7 separate regions of the Homo sapiens genome follow, and all the other regions are linked to region 1. The links are contacts of gene promoters, found by promoter capture Hi-C in blood cells and fetal thymus (Javierre and others, 2016). All regions are on one chromosome and are shown on one strand. Each heading gives the region's core, a stretch centred on a gene start or on the middle of the fragment in contact. The rest is flanking DNA. Distances are from core to core; before and after follow the strand shown.

Region 1 (3,121 bases), core at 391-2,890:
AAGGAAGAAGACAGTGGATAAGAACATATTTACATTATAAGGCGCTAGGAAAGTAGTGGTGGAAGGAGAAGGTGGGAAGGGATGGCATAGTTTCAGGCAGAGGGAGTGGCTTTGGAGAGAAGGGTTCTGGGTTAATTTGGTTAGAAGTTTTGGGATCACGAACAGGAGGTGGTCACAGATATTTTATAATGGAGGCAAGGTCAAACCGGAATTGGAGTCCCATAGCTCTGAGCCCAGGAAACTGGATGAATTTATCTATTAGTATGGACTGGGACTGGCATCTTTAACAACATGGAAAGCTTGAAACAGTCTTTGTGGAAAATAGGAGATCAGCCAGAGATTAGAAGAAAACGCAAGAAAATTATAAGTAGGAGTCCAGTCACGAATTCATATCCAATCTGGTCAGTTATGACTTCCTCCAGCGAAAAGCCACACATCTTGCAAACCCTTGAGAGAGAAAACACAAATAGGGGTAACCTACTGGAGACAGGCCCTTAAGACTATAAAGTAGTTGAGCGATTCCATACTGAAATAGAGTTGGCTATAGCGATAGAGAAGTTAGTCATATATGGGGCTAATGATCCAGGAGAGTAAGGATTCACTTTTGTGGTGAAAAGTTGTAAGCAGGTGAAAGGTAGGGATCCATGGCCACGGACGGGCAGGTGGAGATCAGGGAAGAGGCGACGTTAAACATAAATAGTTTGTTAATGATTTCACCTTACTGATTATTTCTCTTTTGGCATCTAGAAGGCTAAGATTCTCATGTGTATTTCAGAGCTACTGAAAGTAGTCCTAGGTTGTGGAGGGAGAAATCCACTTTCACAGCTGAGTCTATCTTCTCAGTCTAGTTATATTCTCCTCTCACAAACTAGCCAATGCTGCCGCCTTATGCAAAGCCGACACCACGGAAAGATGTGCTTTACAGAGGCAGGATGACGCCAATCGGCCTAGGGCCGGCGGTGTTTCGTCTAGATTAATGGCGAGGGAAGTCCCCAATAGTCCTTTTGAAACCTTTTCACTCTTGCCTGGTGAAAGCGCTTGTCAGCCGTAAATCGCGAATACAATGCTAAGCTCTGAGGCCCTTGCTAAATCCAAGTAGGAGCAGGGATCTGCGCGGCCTCACCCTCGGGTTTCCGCAGGGCGTCTCGAGAGCTGCGGATGGGGGCAGCAGGAGCCGGGCGGGAACAGAGGAAAGCGCCGGCCCTGAGACCTAGGGAGGAGCCTCGGTGAAGGAACCCGGGGCGGGTTCCTGCCTAGATCTCCAAGAAGCTCCAAAAATGGCGGGCGGCAACTCGGCGAGCCGGACGCGCAGGCGCCACCGTGGCCGTCCTTCCGCCAGCCGCGGGCGGCCCAAGAACCGTCCACAGCGCCCTTATCCAGAAGCCTACGCCTCTCGCGATTGGCTGAACTGCGCGAGCGCTCCGTGTGGGGGCGGGGCCGCCACGCAGCGGCCACGTTTCCCGCCCCGCTGGTGCGCGTGCGCGCAATCCCCACTGGAAAGCGTTTGCGCGCGCCCCTGCCGCGGCCCCTAGCTCGCGCCTCAGCTCCCTCCCCTTTCCGGGCAGGCCCGTCCCGTCAGCAAGGCAGTGAGCACCGCGGCCAGCAGAGGGCGGTCCGGACCCAAGTCTGCAGCGGCGCCATTGGCGTGTGGAAAATGCCACCAGATGGCGGGTTAGGATTGCAGCTCCGTTGAAGGCGCGGCCCCCGCTCCCGAACCCCCGGCGACCACCCCGTAACAACCCCCCCACATCGGGAATAACACACCGGAGACTTTTGGGGGGAAACTAGGTCGATGGTCGGCGGCGCCCGGATGGGCAGCTGAGGTGAGTGCGGGCGGCGGCGACGGCGGCGGGGGGCGGGAAAGAGGGGGAATGCGGCGGCAGCGGCGCGGGGGCTGGAAGCGCCGATCCAAGATGGAGGCCGGGCGAGAGCGAGAGAGCGCGAGCGGCGAGCGGGCGGGCCGGGCGCGGGCCCCGTGCGGGGGAGGGAGGCCGCGCGGGCCTGTGCGGGGTGCGGCGGTCGTGGGCCGTCCGAGTGCCCGGAGAGACGTCTGTGGGCGCGGTGGGCACCCCGGCGTCTTCGTCGCTTGCCACCCCTCCCGCGGGCACCAAAAATTTTGCCCCCGCCCGCCCGGGCACTACGGCGACAGGCGCGGAAGCCTTTGTGGCGCGCTCGGGCCCGCCGCCAAGCCCGCCCTCCGCCCCCCCCCGCCCGGGCTCTCGGGAGTCGCCCGCGCCCAGCGGGGCCGGGCCGACGCGGGCTGGCGCGAATGCCTTCCGCCGCCTGCCGACCTGCGTTTCTGCGGTGTTTTAGCGGCGGCGGCGTCACATGACAACGAGTTCATTTCAGCGGAGGGGCCTGGGGGGTCGCTCGGCGGGGCGGCTGGCCCAGGCTTCTTGTTGGCGGGGTGGGGCAGCGGGGTGGCGGCTGGGGGAGATGCATCAATGCTGGGCTTTCCAGCTATCTGCCCTCTCAGCCCCCGACGGGGGCCTCCTTGTGAAACGTGTCCAGGCCTAAGCACTGCCCCGCTAGTTTGCCAGTCCCCTGAGAGACGAGGCCAATAAAAGTTGTTTTCCCTCCTTTCTCGAGGTGGGGGCGGGGTGGGAAACTAGAGTGCTTGGAGTTGGACCTGAGCCCCGTTTGCAGGGTCCGAACTGGGTTCTTCTTGTATGGTATGGGTACTAAGAAATTTTCAGGTTTTAGGATTGTCACGTCACCCCCATCTACCCACATTTGAAATGTTATCTGTCGATTCTCTTCACATTGCAGGGAATCGTGCTCCGGGAGTATAAGTCATAGGATAGTTTTGGACACTTACAGACAAAAAAAAAACAAAAAAAAAAAACGCAATTTGTCATAAAAAAAAATTATTTGCTGTTAAAGTTGGTGTTAAGATGGATAGAGTTTATTCTCGTGATTCTGACTAGAAAGACTTGCATCTTCGCAAAAATAGTGTTTACTTGAGAAAGTATCTGAATTGGCACAAAGTTGTGTGATTTGTAACTTATCTGGAATTTGAATGACTCTACATTTTAGTTTTCCTCGTGTTTTAAGAAAATTGCACATTCCGATGGTGAAGCACTTAGGGAAATATACAGAAGAGTGAAAATAAAAATAACTT
Region 2 (3,376 bases), core at 532-3,031, 600 kb after region 1:
ATACTTGTGGTTTATAATTAAACCATGGTCGTTTTGAAATCTGTCAGAAGAATTTGAGCCCAGTATTATACCCTAGTTTTGTTTTCTTTAATAAGTTTAAATATAATTTTTTCCATTTTGTATTTTTTTCTAGAAGAATTTGAGTTGAGTAGTACTCCTTTTTTCTTTGTTTTAATGTAGTTGAACATAGTTCTCTCCTACTGAAACTCCTTTTTTTTTTTTTTTAAATGAGACGGAGTTTTGCTCTTGTCGCCCAGGCTGGAGTGCAGTGACACAATCTCAGCTCGCTGCAACCTCCGCCTCCTGGGTTCAAGGGATTCTCCTGCCTCAGCCTCCTGAATAGCTGGGATTACAGGTGCCCATCACCCTGCCCGGCTAATTTTTGCGTTTTTAGTAGAGACAGGGTTTCACCATGTTGGCCAGGCTAGTCTCAAAGTCCTGACCTCAGGTGATCTGCCCACCTCAGCCCCCCAAAGTGCTGGGGTTACAGGCATGAGCCACCACACCTGGCCTTTTTTTTTTTGAGACTAAGTCTCGCTCTATTGCTTAGGCTGGATTGCAGTGGTGTGATCTCAGCTCACTGCTACCTCAGTTTCCTGGGTTCAAGTGATGCTCCTGCCTCAGCCTCCCTAGCAGCTGGGACTACAGGTGCGTACCACCATGCCCGGTTAATTTTTTTGTATTTTTAATAGAAATGGGGTTTTACCATGTTGGCCAGGCTGGCCTTGAACTCCTGACCTCAGGTGATCCGCCCACCTCAGCCTCCCAAAGTGCTGGGATTATAGGCATGAGCCACTGTGTCCGGCCTGAAATGACATTTTGATCTTTTTTCTTTAAAGTTTATGATTAGTATATATGCATTAAAAACTGGTTGAAAAAATTTTTTTTTCTGTGAAGATACTTTTCTACTGATGAATGCCCTCAAGACTATCTTTTATGAGGGCAGGGACTAAATCTCTCTTACTCATATCTGTTTCCCCAGTGTCCAGCAAAAAATAATCAATATGATTTTGTTCAGCATGTTGTAGCATTGCCATGTTGTGTTAGGTTGAGGTCCAAAGGGTTTTGGTTTTGTTTTTGAGACAGGGTCTCGCTTTGTCACCCAGGCGGGAGTGCAGTGGCAAGATCATAGTTCACCGTAGCCTGAACTCTAGGGCTCAAGCCATCACCTCAGCCTCCTGAATAGCTGGGATTACAGGCACACACCACCACACCTGGCTATCCAAAGGGTTTTAACCCTAGTTTGTGCTTCTGGTGTCTGATCTTCACCTCTTTAACTTTATAGCCTTTGGAGGAAGAGGATAAGAAGGTGGACCAGAACGTATTGCTTGGGGAGAGAGACACAGAATCAAGGATGATTTTGGTTTGAGATAACTGAATGGGGAATATGGCATGAAATCAAGCGAGCTAATTGAAGATTCTTCCGTTTCTTCTAAGATATATTTTCTGTTATCTGGTCTAGTGAGTTTAATTCATCTCAATTTTGATAGACTACTTATGTCATCTAAACTTCAGTTTATGAAATGGTAAATTTATTTTACTAAAATCTTTGCTTTCCTCCTTCTCCCCCTTAGGACATTTGCTACAAGATCCTATTGCACCCACCAACTCCACCTGCCAACATTATGTCTGCAAAACTTGTAAAGGCAAGAAAATGATGATGAAACCTTCCTGTAGCTGGTGCAAAGACTATGAGCAGTTTGAGGAAAACAAGCAGTTAAGCATCCTAGTGAACTGCTACAAAAAACTATGCGAGTATATAACACAGACTACACTGGCACGGGATATAATAGAAGCAGTTGACTGTTCTTCTGATATTTTGGCTTTGCTTAATGATGGATCATTGTTTTGTGAGGAGACAGAAAAACCCTCAGATTCATCCTTTACTTTGTGTTTGACACATTCCCCTTTACCTTCAACCTCAGAACCCACAACTGATCCTCAAGCTAGTTTATCTCCAATGTCTGAAAGCACCCTCAGCATTGCTATTGGCAGTTCTGTTATCAATGGTTTGCCTACTTATAATGGGCTTTCAATAGATAGATTTGGTATAAATATTCCTTCACCTGAACATTCAAATACGATTGACGTATGTAATACTGTTGACATAAAAACTGAGGATCTGTCTGACAGCCTGCCACCCGTTTGTGACACAGTAGCCACTGACTTATGTTCCACAGGCATTGATATCTGCAGTTTCAGTGAAGATATAAAACCTGGAGACTCTCTGTTACTGAGTGTTGAGGAAGTACTCCGCAGCTTAGAAACTGTTTCAAATACAGAGGTCTGTTGCCCTAATTTGCAGCCGAACTTGGAAGCCACTGTATCCAATGGACCTTTTCTGCAGCTTTCTTCCCAGTCTCTTAGCCATAATGTTTTTATGTCCACCAGTCCTGCACTTCATGGGTTATCATGTACAGCAGCAACTCCGAAGATAGCAAAATTGAATAGAAAACGATCCAGATCAGAGAGTGACAGTGAGAAAGTTCAGCCACTTCCAATTTCTACCATTATCCGAGGCCCAACACTGGGGGCATCTGCTCCTGTGACAGTGAAACGGGAGAGCAAAATTTCTCTTCAACCTATAGCAACTGTTCCCAATGGAGGCACAACACCTAAAATCAGCAAAACTGTACTTTTATCTACTAAAAGCATGAAAAAGAGTCATGAACATGGATCCAAGAAATCTCACTCTAAAACCAAGCCAGGTATTCTTAAAAAAGACAAAGCAGTAAAGGAAAAGATTCCTAGTCATCATTTTATGCCAGGAAGTCCTACCAAGACTGTGTACAAAAAACCCCAGGAAAAGAAAGGGTGTAAATGTGGGCGTGCTACTCAAAATCCAAGTGTTCTTACATGCCGAGGCCAACGCTGCCCTTGCTACTCTAACCGCAAAGCCTGCTTAGATTGTATATGTCGTGGCTGCCAAAACTCCTATATGGCCAATGGGGAGAAGAAGCTGGAGGCATTTGCCGTGCCAGAAAAGGCCTTGGAGCAGACCAGGCTCACTTTGGGCATTAACGTGACTAGCATTGCTGTGCGTAACGCTAGTACCAGCACCAGTGTAATAAATGTCACAGGGTCCCCAGTAACGACGTTTTTAGCTGCCAGTACACATGATGATAAAAGTTTGGATGAAGCTATAGACATGAGATTCGACTGTTAAATCAGTGGGTCTTTTAAACCTACTCCTGGTAGGGAAATAGCTACAGTTTTACGGCAGCTATGGTTCTGTTGGTTTAACTTGCCGGAGCTCCTGCATATAGATCACTTGTATCAAGTGTTTTCATTGCTAAGTTATATGTGTTAGTGTCGGGGAAATAGTTTGCAGATAATGGAGGAGTAACCCTACAACTATATGTCCTTAGTTCTTACA
Region 3 (3,542 bases), core at 769-3,268, 620 kb after region 1:
TTGTTCAAGTGGCTGTGTAGTATATCTCACTGAGGTTTTAATTTGCAATTTCCTAATGTCTAATAATACAGAACATCTTTTCATACACTTATTTACTGTTTGTACCTCCTTTTTAGTGTGTATTCACATGTTCTATTTAAAAAATTGAGATATTAGTCTTTTTGTTATTTAGAGTTCTTTACATATTCTGGATATGAGTTCTTTATCAGAATGTTTTGGAAATATTTTCTCCTGGTCTGTTTTTTCATTTTCTTAATGGTGTCTTCTGAAGAGCAATCGTTTTTAATTTTGAAGGAAGTCCAATGTATCAATTTTTAAAAATTACTCTTGCCCAACCCAAGGTCACAAAGATTTTCCTTTGTTTTATTCCAGAAGCTTTGTAGTTTTAGCCCTTACAGTTAGTTCTATGATTCCTTTTTAATTATTTTTATATTTAGCACAAGATATGGATTGGGGTTCTTTTTGGCACATGGATATCCAATTATTTTAGCATCATTTTTGAAAAGACTATCTTTTCTCTTTTGGTTGAAAATTAGTTGGAGTGTTACACTGATCTCTGTGTATATATATACCAGTGCTACAATGTCTTGATGATTGGTTTACAGTACATTTTGAAATCAGGTAATCTAGTCCTTCAACTTTGTTCTTTTAAAAAAGTGTTTTGGCTATTCTAGATATTTTTCATTTTCTATACAAGTTTTAGGATTAGTTTACTAATTTCTACACCAAAAGTCTGCCGGGATTTTGATAGGGATTATGTTAAATCCGTACATCGATTTGGGGATAATTGACATTTTAACAACGCTGAGCCTTCTAATCTTTCCAGTTATTTAGGTCTTCTTTAATTTCTCTCAGCATTGTTTTTTTAGTTTCATTGTACAAGTATTATTATTTTATTATATTTATTCCTATTTTTCATATTCTTTTTGATATGACTGTGAATAGAATTATTCTTTTTATTTCAATTTCATCACTGGAGGGGCTCATTGCTAGTATATAGAAATACTGTACTACTGATTTTTGTGTATTGAGCTTGTATTCTGAGATTGTGCTAATTCACTTAATAGCACTGGTATCTTTTATGTAGATTCCTTAGTTTTCAATTTGTAGGTCACATCATCTGTGAATATACAGTTTTACATCTTCCTTTCCAATCTGAATGCCTTTAAAAAGTTTTTTTCTTGCCTTACTGCCCTGGCTAGGACCCCCCAGTTACAATTGTTGAGTAGAAACAGTGAGGAATAGAAACATCCTTGCCTGGTTCTTGATCTCAGGAAAAAGGCATTCGTTTTTTTTTTATTATACTTAAAGTTCTAGGGTACATGTGCACAACGTGCAGATTTGATACATAGGTATACATGTGCCATGGTGGTTTGCTGCAGCCATCAACTCATCATTTACATTAGGTATCTCTCCCAATGCTATCCCTCCCCCAGCCCCCCCCACCCCCTGACAGGCCCTGGTGTGTGATGTTCCCCGCCCTGTGTCCATATGTTCTCATTGTTCAATTCCCACCTATGAGTGAGAACATGCGGTGTTTGGTTTTCTGTCCTTGTGGCAGTTTGCTGAGAATGATGGTTTTCGGCTTCATCCATGTCCCTGCAAAGGACATGAACTCATCCTTTTTTATGGCTGCATAGTATTCCATGGTGTATATGTACCACATTTTCTTAATCCAGTCTATCACTGATGGACATTTGGGTTGGTTCCAAGTCTTTGCTATTGCAAATAGTGCCACAATATGTTTATATGTGTGTATGTGTCTAAGCAGCATGATGTATAATCCTTTGGGTATATACCCAGTAATGGGATTGTTGGGTCAAATGGTAATTCTAGTTCTAGATCGTTGAGGAATCGCCACACCGTCTTCCACAATGGTTCAACTAATTTACACTCCCACCAACAGTGTAAAAGCATTCCTATTTCTCCACATCCTCTCCAGCATCTGTTGTTTCCTGACGTTTTAATGATTGCCATTCTAACTGGCATGAGATGATATCTCATTGTGGTTTTGATTTGCATTTCTCTGATGACCAGTGATGATGAGCATTTTTTCATGTGTCTGTTGGCTGCATAGGTGTCTTCTTTTGAGAAGTGTCTGTTCATATCCTTTGCCTACTTTTTGATGGGGTTGTTTTTTTCTTGTAAATTTGTTTGAGTTCTTTGTAGATTTTGGATATTAGCCCTTTGTCAGGTGGGTAGATTGCAAAAATTTTCTCCCATTCTGTAGGTTGCCTGTTCACTCTGATGGTGATGGTAGTTTCTTTTGCTGTGCAGAAGCTCTTTAGTTTAATTAGATCCCATTTGTCAATTTTGGCTTTTGTTGCCATTGCTTTTGGTGTTTTAATCATGAAGTCCTTGCCCATGCCTATGTCCTGAATGGTATTGCCTAGGTTTTCTTCTAGGGTTTTTATGGTTTTAGGTCTAACTTAATTAAGTCTTTAATCCATCTTGAATTAACTTTTGTATAAGGTGTAAGGAAGGGATCCAGTTTCAGCTTTCTGCATATGGCTAGCCAATTTTCCCAGCACCATTTATTAAATAGGGAATCCTTTCCCCATTTCTTGTTTTTGTCAGGTTTGTCAAAGATCAGATGGTTGTAGATGTGTGGTGTTATTTCTGAGGACTCTGTTGTTTCATTGGTCTATACATCTGTTTTGGTACCAGTATCATGCTGTTTTTGTTACTGAAGCCTTGTAGTATAGTTTGAAGTCAGGTAGCATGATGCCTCCTGCTTTGTTCTTTTTGCTTAGGATTGTCTTGGCAATGCAGGCTCTTTTTTGGTTCCATATGAATTTTAAAGTAGTTTTTTCCAATTTTGTGAAGAAAGTCATTGGTAGCTTGAAGGGGATGGCACTGCATCTATAAATTACTTTGGGCAGTATGGCCATTTTCATGATATTGATTCTTCCTATCCATGAGCATGGAATATTCTTCCATTTGTTTGTGTTCTCTTTTATTTCATTGAGCAGTGATTTGTAGTTCTCCTTGAAGAGGTCCTTCACATCCCTTGTAAGTGGGATTCCTAGGTATTTTATTCTCTTTATAGCAATGGTGAATGGGAGTTCACTCATTATTTGGCTGTTTGTTATTGGTAGATAGGAATGCCTGTGATTTTTGCACAATTGATTTTGTATCCTGAGACTTTGCTGAAGTTGCTTATCAGCTTAAGGAGATTTTTGGCTGAGACGATGGGGTTTTCTCAATATACAATCATGGCATCTGCAAACAGGGACAATTTGACTTCCTCTTTTCCTATCTGAATACCCTTTATTTCTTTCTCTTGCCTGACTGCCCTGGACAGAACTTCCAATACTATGTTGAATAGGAGTGGTTAGAGAGGGCATCCTTGTCTCGTGCCGGTTTTCAAAGGGAATGCTTCCAGTTTTTGCCCATTCAGTATGATACTGGTTGTGGGTCTGTCATAAAGAGCTCTTATTATTTTGAGATTATGTTCCATCAATACCTAGTTTATTGAGAGTGTTTAGCATGAAGGGCTGTTGAATTTTGTTGAAGGCCTTTTCTGCATCTATTGAGATAAT
Region 4 (3,437 bases), core at 143-2,642, 780 kb after region 1:
AAGTTAGGAGAAATGTTTGAGTAACCAACAGACTAACACCTACATTGTAGGCATGTAAGACACCTCATCCTCCCTCACCACTTCCTCTTTTTGGGCAAGCTTCTCAAAGGAATTTCCAACACTTGCCACTCCCATTTCCTTACTTTTTACCCACTTCATTTTGGTTTCTGCCTCTTCCAATCTAAAATGGTTCTTGCTGAGGTCAAAGACTCCATCTTGCTAAATTCAACAGATCATTTTTGTTCCACATCTTTACTTGATGACACCTCTCTATTTGAAACATTCTTCTCTCACCTTTTATGATGCATCTTAAACTAGAATTAGATTGTGAAGGAAACAGCTAAGACAAAAACCAAATATTGTTTAAATTACTCTTGAAAATCCTTTAAATGGCCCGTTAAATATCGCACACCTGTATACAAGTAAATAAAACTTTTCTCTCTCTCATTTAATAAAAAACATGGTAGAGCGCATTCAGTTAAGTTTGCACACTTTAATTCTGAGCAAGGCGTCATTCCACTGTACCTCTGTGGCCACTTCTCATTCTCTTCCTGGGCTATCCTCCTCTACTAAACTTCAAAATGCTGGGCCTGAGCCCTTTTTTCTTAATCTCTGTCAGTGGTTCTCAACTTCCACAGCTAAGTGGAATCACCTCAGATTCGTCCAAGGCAGCAAATCAGATCAAGTAAACAGAAAAAGAAATTTCTTAGGTGGACCACAGCATTAGCATTTTTTAATCATTCAGTGATTCCAATGTGCAACCAAGATGAGAACACTGTTCTATGCTCTCTTCCCAGACCAGGGATCACATGCTCAAAAGCCTACAGTCAGAGAAATAAATGAGCAAAGTGGGCCAGGCATAATTTTAGGGAGTGGTGGGCTCTGTAGTGAAATAGAAGAGCTGCGATCATCTGTGACTTAGCTCCAATTATTGCTGCCATATTGGAAAACCAACTCAGTAGTGCTACATTTTCTCATTTTTAAAGAGAAACCCCAAATCTGGATTTTTCATGAGAAATCTTCAGATTTTAAAATATTGGCAACTAATTCAAAATTAAACAATAACAAAACCACTGTATGGGCAAAACATCTGTGAGTCAGATTCAGCTGTAGGCTACTGCTTTGCAACCACTGCCCTAGATAATTTCATCCACAGCCTTTAATTTACACCTAAAAATTCGTGCCTCCAGTTTAGCCCTCTGCTCTTGGCTCTGAATTAGAATTGTCAAATGCTTATGTGACCTCTCACTTGAAAATCTCAGCAGTCCCAATGTAAACTGTGATTTAAACTCATCTCAAAACTATTTATCCTTAAATGTTCTTTACTTCAGGTAACACCACCACCATTCACTGGTTGGGCAAGCTAGAACCCTGGGAGTCATCTTAGGATCTCATTTCTCCCTCTCAACCCTTGTACCATATCAACCACCAAATCCTATCAATTACGCCTCCTAAATATATCTCATGAATATATGTACTTCTCTCCATCTCCAATACGACCATTCTTTTCTCTCAGCCACCACCTTTTCTCTCCTATGTTATCCACAGTAACCTTAATTAGGGGCAGCTGTCTCCCACACTCAATCTTGTTTCCTTCCAAAGCATTCTAATATGACCAGAATATTTTATAATCACAAATAATTACAAATATATACACATATACACGCATTACATAAATATATACTTATGTAAATATATGTGTTTGTGTGTTTATTTCACCCAACAATTCCATTTCTAGGAATTTACCCTATAAATATATTTATTCACATATGAAACAGCATATTCGTAGCACTGTTTACGGTAAATTACTGGAAACAATCTAAATGTCTGTCAGTGGGGGAATGGTTAAATAATCTATGGTATATCCATACAGTGAAATACTGTACAGTCATTCAAAAAAATAAGGAAACTATATACTGAAGTGGAAAGATTCCCAAGACATTTTTAAGAAAACAGAGTGTACAGTATGCTACCATTTGTGTAAAACAGTAAGAGGAAAGATATGCATTTCCTTGAATGCCCACAAAAAATGTCTACAATGATATACAAAACTAGTATCAGTGGTTATTCCTTTGGAAGACAGGGAAAATGGTAGCTGGGGGAGGGAGCAGAACCCACCAAAAATGCTCTGATTTGCTTGGAGGAGGGCCCAGGCGTCGGTCTTAAGTTCTGGTGGTTCTGATGAGAGTGTTGGACTGAGAACCACTGCTTAGTGGACAGCCTTTGCCTATTTTCCTAGCTTCATTTTGTGTCATCACTCTCCGTGTTCCTGGCTTCTGGGTTCCCAAAAGCGGCCCTGTTCCTTTCTTCCTCAAGGTATTCACATCTGTTCCTTCTGCCCGGAATATTGTTCCCGTGAGCTTCACCTAGTAACTCCTGTTAATCCTTCACCGTCCACCTCAAAGGTCACTTCCCCATGGAAACTTTCCCCAGTTTCCAAACTACATCAGGACATCTGTTTTATGCACTCAGAGCTGCCTGTACTTCTCCCAGAAATTAACACAATCGTAATGAGATAAATGTATATTTATGCATGTATACATCTGTCACCCTCCTTAGACTATAAGGTCCAGGCATGCAAAGTTGTTTTTACTAATCTATTTCCATACCTAATCTAGTGTCCAGTTGGCAAAACAGGCCTTCAGAAATCTGTTAAATAAATAACTGTTCCCGCCCTCAAGCTTAGTATAGTAAACACCTAAGCAAATGAGGACAATGCTGCGTCACTAGTGTTAAGGCAGCAGTCTGCTCACAACAGTGGTTCTTAACTAAGGGTGATTTTGGTCCTCCTGGGGGACATTTGCGATGTCTGTAAGCATTTTTGATGTTCACAACTGTGTGTGTGGAGTGCTACTGGTATCTATTCCTCAGTAAAGGTTAGAAATGCTGCTAAACATCCTACGCTGCACATGATAGCCCTCCACAACTAGAAATTACCTGGCCTAAAATGTCAACAGAACTACAAATGAGAAACTCTGACTCAGAGGACGATAACACTCAAAAGAGCTGTCAATTGCACTTCTGAGGGTGGTGATTTTTAAATATCTGTTTTCTTTTTGGGGGATGGGGGGTGTCAAGCAAAGCTTCAGGGCAGAGGTGAAGCTTCAGCTGTGTGTTTGAAAGGTAACAGGGGCCAGATCAGTGGGGACTATGTTTGTCAGGAGCAAGGAGGAGTCTCTGAAGAGTTTAAAAGCAAAGTTATGATTTGAACAGGTGCCCCCAAGTACCCTATACTCCAAAATTATTCATTTCCTTTTTTCCTTTCTCGCTGAAACAAAACTTCCATTCTCTCAGAGTAGCTGGTTTCAGCTGAACATTAAGGCCAAATTAATTCAGCCCAAGATAAAGTCAGATAGGCCCTTCACTCTCCAGAATGTTAAGCTACATTTTAAAATATGCAAATACTTATGAGTACAAATAAATCTTTAACTGCTCAA
Region 5 (3,236 bases), core at 41-2,540, 640 kb after region 1:
GGTGTGATCCCAGCTCACTGCAACCTCCACCTCCTGGGCTCAAGCGATTTTCCTGCCTCAGCCTCCCGAGTAGCTGGCATTACAGGTGTCTGCCACCACACCTGGCTCATTTTTGTAGTTTTAGTAGAGACGGGGTTTTATCATGTTGGCCAGGCTGGTCTTGAACTCCTGACCTCAGGTGATCCACCTGCCTCAGCCTCCCAAAGTGCTGGGATTACAGGCATGAGCCACCGCGCCCAGCTTCATATGAATTTTGTAATAGTTTTTTTCAAATTCTTTGAAAAATGATGTTGGTAGTATGATAGGAATAGCACTGAATCTGTAGATTGCTTTGGGTAGTATGCCCATGTTAACAATATTGATTCTTCCTGTCCACGAGCACAATGGGCAGCATGGTCATTTTAACAATATTGATTCTTGCTATCCATGAGCATAGAATGTTTTTCCATTTTTTAATGTTGTCTGTGATTTCTTTTGGCAGTGATTTGTAATTACTGTTGTAGAGAGATCTTTCACATCCCTTATTCCCAGGTATCTTATTCTTTTTGTGGCTATTGCAAATGGGATTGTGCTCTTCATTTGGCTCTCAGCTTGAATGCTGTTGGTGTATAGAAATGCTGCTGATTTTTGTACACTGATTTTGTATCCTGAAACCTTACTGAAGTCGTTTATCAGATCTAGGAGCCTTTGGGTAGATACTATGGGTTTTCTAGGTATAGAATTATATCATCTGCAAAGACGGATAGCTTGACTTTCTCTCTTCCTATTTTGATGAGTTTTCTTTCTGTTCCCTGATTGCTCTGGATAGGACTTCCATCACTATGTTGAATAGCAGTGGTGAGAATGGGCATATTTATCTTCTTCTGGGTCTCAAGGGGAATGCTTCCAGCTTTTGCCCATTCATTGTGACGCTGGCTGTGGGTTTGTCATAGATGGCCCTTATTATTTTGAGGTATGTTCCTTAGATGCCAGTTTGTTGAGGGTTTTTAACATGAAGGGGTGCTGAATTTTATCAAAAGCCTTTTCTGTGTCCATTAAGATGACCATGTGGTTTTTGTTTTTTGTTCTATTCATGTGACGAATTGCATTTATTGGTTTGCATATGTTGAACCAACCTCGTATCCCAGGAATAAAGCCTACATGATTGTGGTGGATTAGCTTTTTGATGTGCTGCTGAATTTAATTTGCTACTATTTTGTTGTGGGTTTTTGTGTGTATGTTCATCAAGGATATTGGCCTGAAGTTTTTTTTATTGTGTCTGCCAGGTTTTAGTATCAGAATGATGCTATCCTCACAGAATGAGTTAGAGAGGAGTCCCTCCTTGATTTTTTGAAATAATTTCAGCAGGATTGGTACCAGCTCTTCTTTATACATCTGGAAGAATTTGGCTGTGAATCTGTCTAGTCCAGGGTTTTATCTGATTGGTAGTTTTTTTTTTTTAATTACTGATCAAGTTCAGAACTCATTACTGGTCTGTTCAGTGTTTCGGTTTATTCCTGGTTCAATCTTAGGAGGTTGTATGTTTTCAGGAATTTATCAATTTCTTCTAAGTTTTCTAGTTTGTATGTATGAAGAAGTTTGGCTTATTGCTACTTTGAGCGGAGTTTAGGTAACTTGCCACCAGAAGAATGCTGATTAATGTACTTTCAAGTAGTTTGAGTTTTTACTCAATTTTTTTCAGTTAATAACCTTTTTCTGAAACTGATATGAAAGTTTTCCATTTTATTTTTATTCTTCTAGTGAAAATATCTTAAATTTTTAACAGACATACTTTAACCATTGTTGGAGAAATACAACTTTATCAATGTCTATATTTCTCTACTCTTATACAAATAAGAACCATAGGATATTACTCCAATTCCTTTTTCTCTCTTATATATCTGTGATCAATACTTATTTAGTCCTAAGAATAATTTTTACTATTTTTATTGCTCACAATTGCTTCTTTCCTCCCACTGTTTCCTCTAGGATCCATTTACCTTCTTGCTGAAGAATATCATTTAATATTTGTTTCAGAGATATTCTGTGGTATACTTTTTGCACCTCTTTTTACAAGCCTGAAAATGTCTTTATTTGTCCCTCACATTTGAGTAAGAACAGAATTTTAGGTTTGTAGTTATTTTTTTTGCAGTACTTGAATAATTTTGTTCCATTTCTTTTTGTGTACACTTTATGGATAATGTTTTTTTCTTTCTGGTAGATCTTCAGACCTTTCCTATCTTTCGTATTCTGAAATTTCACTCACAGAGGTTGACAACTATAGTCTGTGGGCCAAACCTATCTTGCCATCTGCTTTGGTACAGCCTGTGAGCTAAAAATAGTTTTACATTTTTAAGTTTGAAAAACAAAAGAATATTTGTGACATGAAAATAATATGAAATGAATAGCTCAGTGTCTGTTACTAAAGTTTTATTGGAACATAGCCACATACACTTGCTTACATATTATCAATGGCTGCTTAGTTGTGGCAGAGGCCCACAAAGCCTCAAGTATTTATAACTGGTTAGAAAAAAATTGCTGATTCCTTCTCCTGTGTATCTTTTTATTTGCTCAAACAACTAAAATTCTCGGAATTATTAAGCTATTATTTCTATTGCTTCCAAAGAGGATTTCTTACGCCAGTATCCCAAATCAAAAACTTTTCAGTTTTTTCCATTCTATTATTCAGTCCAATGGCTGCATTTTTTTTTTAATAAAACTTTCATTTCTAAGAAACTGGTTCTAGTGTTGGTTTAGGAGTGTGATATTCTCTCTTATTCCTTTGAAAATAGTAAATATGCTCATTTTGATGTCTTGTTCTGATTGTGTCTCCTTCCAAGGGTATAAGTTCTTCCATTTGTTGAGTATTTCATTGATATTTCTTAACTGTTTGATATTTGTCCACCTTTTAAGTAGTTGAGAACAGACTGCTGCTTCTGTTCTCACTGGCTGCTTAGGAAGGGGCGGTGGGGTTGTTGGGGTTTTTAATGAGAACAGGGATATGAGTTGGGGACAGAATGAGATGGGATGTGATATGTTGCTGAGGTGTAGCTATTTCAGTGACTGGGCTTTCTCTGTTCCAAGCTCCATAGTCAGGGCTTTTGTCTTTCCTTTAGGGGTAGGGTGGGATATACAGGAGTTGACCTACCTAGACACATCTTCTTCTGGTCTTCTTCTTGCTATTGGTTTCAGTCAAATTCAGGTAGAGATCATTAAGTGCTACTCCCATTACCTGTCTAATTATTTTATACATTCTA
Region 6 (3,279 bases), core at 100-2,599, 700 kb after region 1:
TACAGATTATTTCACTACAGGTACAGGTATTAAGCCCAGTACCCAATAGTTATCTTTTCTGCTCCTCTCCCTCTTTCCACCTTCCACCCTCAAGTAGACCGCAGTGTCTGTTGTCTCCTTGTTTGTTTTCATAAGTTCTCACCATTTAGCTCCCACTTATAAGTGAGAACATGTGGTATTTGGTTTTCTGTTCCTGCATTAGTTTGCTAAGGATAATGGCCTCCAGCTCCATCCACAGTCCCACAAGACATGTGGTCACTTTCTATCTTAAAGAAATATGTTAAGATTTCTTGTACGTTGATTTTCTCTACCATTTCATTGGCTTCCGTGGATTTATTCCTTTTTAATTTCTACACTTTAACTTCAGAAGGGCTTGGGAAAGAATGGGAGGATAATGTCTCTATTTAGTTTGTCTCTTTTACCAGAAGACTCCACAAGTCCACTTCTTAAATACAAATAAGATTTCTCCTTAGATTTAAGGGAAGTATAAATGTCTGTTAACTCATAATTATGATTTTGTTGTTGTCTGTTTCTAATTTTCTTAGTCTAAACTTAATTTACATTCCTGTCAAAGCTTTTATTAAAGCTCTGATAAAATTCAGAACTGCATCAGTCAGCATAGGGTCCCCACAGGAAAAAGAATTCACTGTATGAAGCTTTCACGAAAAGATTACATGTGGAGTTGTGAGCAGGATGAAGGGAGCAAACAAGGGAATAATGAGGCACCCAGAGACTACTGACAGGAGGATACTGTTATAGTCCTGAGGGCCAAAGGAACAAGGGGAGGAGGAGAGCCTAGTAGGCACTAGGACCACAGACAAGGGGCTGTCCAGCAGAAGCTGTATTGTAGAGAGACATAGTTACTGTGCCGAGGCAGAGAGCAGGGAAGAAATGCCAGCTTTTCTTTCCTCTGTCCTCCCATTTACTGGCAATGCTTCCCACTGCCCAGATCCAACCAAAAGCTAGTCAGCAAGAGAGCCCCAAAGACGCACTTTGTAGGGTCAGAGCAAGGCCAAGAATGGATTGAGAGAGTGAGGATGGAGAGCAGTAGAGAACTGGTAATAAAACCTAATGTTTTATTACAATGCAGTTCAAATATTGAAGATTTGAGATTTCACAAAACATAGGAATATTTAATGTTGGATATTATCAGGTAAAATGGTCTTAATTAAATGCCAAAAACTATTAAGAATCTTCATTCTCATGAGTATTTTTTTTAGGGGAACAAAACCATGTAGCAGGTGAGTCTAAGGATAATCAAAGCCATTATGCAAATTAGACAAGCCCAAGGGCCCTGAGCATAAAATAAAATCAGAACCAAACTTCACATTTTAAACATGGAAGATTGTTACTATAATTAAAAGTCTATGTACTATGGTGTTATTAGTCAGGGTAGTGGTTATTGTTGGGTGGCAGTGACTGGGATGGAGCATGACAGGCTTTGCAGGTGCTGGTAATACTGTTTTTGGATCTGTGTGCTAGTTATACGGATATGCCCACATTGTGAAAATTCATTGACTAGGACACCTGTGATTTGGGTGTTTTGTGTGATTATATTTCAGCAAAAATCTTTTTAAAAAATCATGGCATGGCCAGGTGTGGTGGCTCATGCCTGTAATCCCAGCACTTTGGGAGGCTGAGGCAGGTGGATCACCGGAGGTCAGGAGTTCGAGACCAACCTGGCCAACATGGTGAAACCCAGTCTCTACTAAAAACACAAAAATTACCCGGGTGTGGTGGTGGGTGCCTGTAATCCCTGCTACTTGGGAGGCTGAGGCAGGACAATCAATTGAACCCAGGAGGCGGAGGCTGCAGTGAGCCAAGATCGCACCATTGCACTCCAGCCTGGGCGACAAGAGCGAGACTCCGTCTCCAAAAAAACAAACAACAACAAAACATGGCAGCCATGAATACAACTTAAAAAAACCTCAACTATTTCCATGTATTTTATGCCCTTCTTTAGGTATCCATACTAAGAGCTAACAAGGATTTACTGTAACACCTAAAATAATGATGCACATTCAACAGGCAGGAAAAGCTTATCTTAGCTTCAAAGAATTTGTGATCTGCTTAGAAAAACCAAATATTTAGATACGAAAACAAGAATATTAACAAGCAATATCTCAGGCTATGAAGAATGCTATAGTAGAAACAGGTGCAATACTGATATGTAACTGATTCCCATGGGAAGGCCTAGATAGAAACACTCCCCAGGTGGGCTCTTTCTGTTAGACATCTCTCTCTCTCTAAAACCTTAACAAAGGTCAACTAGGCCAAATGACTGTGGACCCTGCATTTAAGCCTACAATACGCACAGTGCCATAAAAGCCATGAAGATTTTGAGGTCACTTCTCTTCTCTGCCCTGAAGTAGTGAGTAGGGAGCTCACCCCTACTTGAAAGGGAAGCAGACAATACAAGCAAGGAGAATTGAAGGCAGAGATAGGAAAGCATAAGGGAACATGGCAGCAGGAGATTTCTGCAGAGTAGAAGACCTCTTAGTGTCAGGAAAAAGAAAGAGAAGTCTGTGGGTGATAGGAGCAAAGGGACCCTGCTGCCTGGCAACACCCTAGGGGTGCAGCTAAAACCTTAAAAGAAAACAGCTGTGTGTGCATCTAGGCAGACGGGCCATGGGTATCTTCACCAAAGGTTCTGGGGCTTGACACGTGGCACAGAAGCAGCAAAGACCTCTGGATCTGAAGGGAATCTGCTAGCCAAAGATGGCTGATGTCTCAGCAGTAACTCCCAACCCTAATGCTTTGGTACCGTGTAAGACCTCAGAACTGTGGCACAGCTCCAGGCTGAGAAACCTCAGGAAGGTCTGAGGTTAAAAATATCCGCCAACCTGGTAAACGAAGGCTAAAGTTAGAAATTCAAATCCAGAAACTTATACTTCTGATAGATCTGACGTTTATTCAGGTCTGAGACTTATCCTTTTTTTACATGTATAATATATGGATATACAACACACAGAGTTTAAAATTTCATACACAGAAAAGGAAAAATGAGAAGTACAGTGCCATTGTTTTATCTGGTTCCATCAGTGAAAGCTGCTCCCTATAAATGAGTTTTCTAGATAAGTACATATAGAGTCTATGCTACTAAAATAAATTACTAATCTCAGCTGAAATCTGGTAATGGGATTGGGACTACTGCCATTATCCTAAATTACTCCCACACTAGAGTACATTTAGAGCTTCTGGGTCTTTTTTTTCTCTTAGTGTTTCTTACTCTCCTCACTACCTTTGTAGTCTGGTGGTGTAGTCTGTTTTTTGCAGCTC
Region 7 (3,547 bases), core at 487-2,986, 660 kb after region 1:
GATCCTCCCACCTCAGCCTCCCAAGTAGCTGGGACCACAGGCGCGTGCCGCTGTGCCTGGTTACATTTCGTATTTCTGGTAGAGACGGGGTTTCACCATGTTGCCCAGGCTGGTATTGAATTCCTGAGCTTGGGCAATCCACCTGCCTTGGCCTCCCAAAGTACTGGGAATACTGGCATGAGTCATCACATCCAGCCAAAAATTTAAAATTTTGATGAAGTCCAATTCATTGACTTTTTCTTTTGATACTTATGCTTTTGGTGTCACATCTAAGAAACTGCCTAGCCAAGGTCGTGAAAATTTACTCCTCTATTTTCTTCTGAATTTTTTATAGCATTAGCTCATACATTTTGGGCTGTGATCCATTTGACTTAATTTTTGTAGTATGTGAACTAGGGGTCCAAAGGTAAGGTTGGTACAAAAGTAATTGCAGTTTTGGCCACCAAAAGAAATTGCAAAAACCACAATTACTTTTGCACCAACCTAATATTATTTTGTATGATATCCAGTTGTTCCGGCACTATTTATTAAAAACACTGTTTTTTTTCCCCATTGGATCGTCCTGGCATCCAGCATCCTTGTTGCAAATCAATTAGCCCTAAATGTGAGGATATATTTCTGAACTCTCAATTCAATTTTGTTTATTTTTATGTCCATCATGATACGAGTACCACACAGAGTTGTTTACTTTCACTTTGTAGTGAAATATTTTGGAATAGGGAAATATGAGTCCTACATTTTTTCTGTACTTTTTCAGCATTGTTTTGGTTACTGTGGTCCCTTTGTATTTCCATAGGAATTTAATATTCAGCTTTTCCATTTCTGGAAAAAAAATAAAAACCATCGAAAAACAAAAAAAGCTTTTGACTCAAACTAACTAATATTTTGTTAGGAATCTGTAGATCAGTTTGGGAATTACTGCCATCTTAACAATGATCCATGAACATGGGATGTCTTCATTTCATTTAGATCTTTAATATATATATTTTTTTGGTGATGGAGTTTTGCTCTTGTCACCCAGGCTGTAGTGCAATGGTGCGATCTCAGCTCACTGCAACCTCTGCCTCCTGGGTTCAAGCAATTCTCCTGCCTCAGCCTCCCATGTAGCTGGGATTATAGGCATGTATCACCACGCCTGGCTAATTTTTTACATTTTTAGTAGAGACAGGGTTTCATCATGTTGGCCAGGCTGGTCTCAAACTCCTGATCTCAGGTGATCTGCCCACCTCGGCCTCCCAAAGTGCTGAAATTACAGGTGTGAGCCACTGCAACCCAGCTGAAAATCCAAAACTTTTTGAGTACCAACAAGACACTCAAAACTCATACTCAAAGGAAATACTCACTGGAGAATTTTGGATTTCAGATTTGGGATGCTCACTGGTAAGTGTAACAAACAGTTCAAAATCTGAAAAAAATCCAAAATCTGAAACACTTCTGATCTCAAGAATTTCAGATAAGAGATACTCTACTCTGCTGGTATATGAAAAAGAGTAGCATATATATGAACTTTTAATATTTTTTTCTGGGTATTAAAATTACTGGTATTAAAATTTATTTTTCTTCTGCTCATTCATGTTTTCTAAATAAATTATTACTTTTGAAATGGAAAACAAAGTTATTTAAAAATAATCTAACAAGCTCTCCAAGAAATGGCTTATTTTTATTTCAACATCTTCTAAACAATATATTCAACATTTATTTTTTTAGAGTTGGTGTCCTGCTCACTATACCCAGGATGGAGTATAATGGCATGATCCTAGCTCACTACAGCCTCAAACTCCTGCCCTCAAGTGATCCTCCTGCCTCAGCTTCTCGAGTAGCTAGGACTACAGGTGTGCATCACCATTCCCAGCTATTTAAAACATTTATCTGTAGAGATGGAGTCTCGTTATGTTTCCCAGGCTGATTTCAAACTCCAGGCCTCAAGCAATCCCTCCTGCCTTGGCTTCCCAAAGTTCTGGCATTACAGATGTGAGCCACCATACCTGGACATATACAACATTTAGATAACTTTTCGAATCAATATTAAGATAGTTGAGTTAGCTGTACCTGCAAGTACCATCAAGGTCTATAACCCCTCCATCCCTTGGTACTGAGCACAAACTACAGTGCGTTGTGTTACACAAAGTAGGGATAAGAAGCGAGGCATCTAGATTTTTTGCCTAAACAAGACATGGAAAGAAAGAAATGTGTAAATTAATAACTCCAATCAAGCTATGTCTGGGAGTGCCAAGGAAAAGCATAGATGATTTCAACTGGCAGACTGAGGATGTGTTCTTATATACTAGTCATCCACAATTTGCTTTCCCTCTCTAATAGTAATGGTTTACCATTCAACCAGTAAGATGATAAAACAAGTAATTCATAGCATCTATTCCCATATTCCACATGAATGCTTACTAGCCCTACTTGTCATCAGCTTACATGTCACTTCACCTTTGTTTCTGTGGGTAACAGCACTTCTCTTGATATGCCATGAACATGGATTCAGTGCCAATCTCCTGAGACGGAGAGCTCCGAGACGGCAGAAACTAAGTCTAATTCATCTTAGTATTGCCACGTTGAGTTGGCCTCACTAGGTATAATATACACCATGACTTTTTCAAGCTTTGTGCATGTGTTTAACATCTTGGCAAAGGAAACTTAGAAATCATACCTGGTAGGATTCCTTTTGTCTTCTTCAGAGATCAAAAACCAAACAAAATCTGCATAGCTCATTCTTCCCTCTTTCTGTATTGTTTTTCCCCTAAAGAAAACACATGGTTATAAAATTTCCTGAGCAATTACTCAGAACCATTTATCAGGATGATAGGCTAAGAAATAAAGTAGTATGTCAGTTAAAATTTTTTAAATTATAATGCTAAATGCCTCATAAAGGGCAACCCTTCCACAGCCTATCTTATTTTCAAAGGTCTAGAGGGTGAAACCAGAAGGCATTTGCAAATATGAAGAAAAGAAATCTGGCTTTTAATATGAATGCAAATAATCACTGGGATAAAATGCTGTTACCTGTATTTAGATATAGGATTAATACTCATGTTAGGCATCAATGGAAGATACCTCAAAATAATAAGAGCCGTTATGACAAACACATAGCTAGCATTATACTGAATGGACAAAAGCTAGAAGCAATCCCCTTAAGAACAAGAACAAGACAAGGATGACCACTCTCACCACTCTATTCAACATAGTACTGGAAGTCTTAGCCAGAGCAATCAAGCAAGAGAAAGAAATAAAACACATCCAAATAGGAAAAGTCAAATTATCTCTCTTTGCTGACAACATGATTCTATACCTAGAAAAGCCTGAAAACTAAGCCAAAACGCTTTCAGAACTAATAATAATTTCATTAAAGTTTCGGGATACAAAATCAATGTATAAAAATCAGTAACATTTCAATACACCAATAGCATTCAAGCTGAAAGCCAAATCAAGAATGCAATCCCATTTACAATAGCCACACACACACAAAATAAAATACCTAGGAATACAGCTAACCAAGGAGGTGAAAAATCTCTACAGGGAGGACTACAACACTCTGCTGAAA

What was found. The method cuts DNA at HindIII sites, captures the fragments that hold promoters and counts their contacts. A CHiCAGO score of 5 or more calls a contact.
Region 2: a contact is called between a fragment that was not itself captured here and the fragment with the promoter of STAG1 in region 1, in 12 of 17 cell types (non-activated CD4 T cells, total CD4 T cells, fetal thymus and 9 more). The highest score is 11.5, in non-activated CD4 T cells.
Region 3: a contact is called between a fragment that was not itself captured here and the fragment with the promoter of STAG1 in region 1, in 3 of 17 cell types (erythroblasts, fetal thymus and non-activated CD4 T cells). The highest score is 6.8, in erythroblasts.
Region 4: a fragment that was not itself captured here is called in contact with the fragment with the promoter of STAG1 in region 1 in 1 of 17 cell types (M1 macrophages); the score reaches 5.5 in M1 macrophages.
Region 5: a fragment that was not itself captured here is called in contact with the fragment with the promoter of STAG1 in region 1 in 5 of 17 cell types (erythroblasts, total B cells, fetal thymus and 2 more); the score reaches 5.7 in erythroblasts.
Region 6: a fragment that was not itself captured here is called in contact with the fragment with the promoter of STAG1 in region 1 in 8 of 17 cell types (naive B cells, erythroblasts, fetal thymus and 5 more); the score reaches 6.9 in naive B cells.
Region 7: a contact is called between a fragment that was not itself captured here and the fragment with the promoter of STAG1 in region 1, in 16 of 17 cell types (fetal thymus, non-activated CD4 T cells, erythroblasts and 13 more). The highest score is 14.7, in fetal thymus.

The regions. Positions count from the first base shown.
Region 1 is chr3:136,750,897-136,754,017 of GRCh38, reverse strand. STAG1 (STAG1 cohesin complex component) reads left to right here and starts at 1,640. Exons shown (of 34, transcript NM_005862.3): 1 at 1,640-1,823. It overlaps STAG1-DT (STAG1 divergent transcript), which reads right to left and starts at 1,347. Exons shown (of 1, transcript NR_185911.1): 1 at 1-1,347. RefSeq lists enhancers at 332-1,263, 1,057-1,376, 1,264-2,195 and silencers at 1,387-1,616, 1,937-2,316. The HindIII fragment of the contact is 7,208 bases long and covers 302-3,121 here.
Region 2 is chr3:136,150,937-136,154,312 of GRCh38, reverse strand. MSL2 (MSL complex subunit 2) reads left to right here. Exons shown (of 2, transcript NM_018133.4): 2 at 1,575-3,376. The coding sequence ends at 3,166. Among named protein-coding and RNA genes, the nearest start is that of MSL2, 44 kb to the left of the region's middle. The HindIII fragment of the contact is 9,097 bases long and covers 1-3,376 here.
Region 3 is chr3:136,129,920-136,133,461 of GRCh38, reverse strand. The region is part of intron 13 of PPP2R3A (protein phosphatase 2 regulatory subunit B''alpha); the gene reads right to left. Among named protein-coding and RNA genes, the nearest start is that of MSL2, 65 kb to the left of the region's middle. The HindIII fragment of the contact is 3,281 bases long and covers 378-3,542 here.
Region 4 is chr3:135,967,354-135,970,790 of GRCh38, reverse strand. All of the region lies in intron 1 of PPP2R3A (protein phosphatase 2 regulatory subunit B''alpha), which reads right to left. Among named protein-coding and RNA genes, the nearest start is that of PPP2R3A, 3.3 kb to the right of the region's middle. The HindIII fragment of the contact is 2,582 bases long and covers 102-2,683 here.
Region 5 is chr3:136,109,857-136,113,092 of GRCh38, reverse strand. All of the region lies in intron 13 of PPP2R3A (protein phosphatase 2 regulatory subunit B''alpha), which reads right to left. Among named protein-coding and RNA genes, the nearest start is that of MSL2, 85 kb to the left of the region's middle. The HindIII fragment of the contact is 6,501 bases long and covers 1-3,236 here.
Region 6 is chr3:136,049,941-136,053,219 of GRCh38, reverse strand. The region is part of intron 5 of PPP2R3A (protein phosphatase 2 regulatory subunit B''alpha); the gene reads right to left. Among named protein-coding and RNA genes, the nearest start is that of PPP2R3A, 86 kb to the right of the region's middle. The HindIII fragment of the contact is 1,382 bases long and covers 659-2,040 here.
Region 7 is chr3:136,089,777-136,093,323 of GRCh38, reverse strand. It overlaps PPP2R3A (protein phosphatase 2 regulatory subunit B''alpha), which reads right to left. Exons shown (of 14, transcript NM_002718.5): 10 at 2,657-2,746. Among named protein-coding and RNA genes, the nearest start is that of MSL2, 100 kb to the left of the region's middle. The HindIII fragment of the contact is 1,747 bases long and covers 863-2,609 here.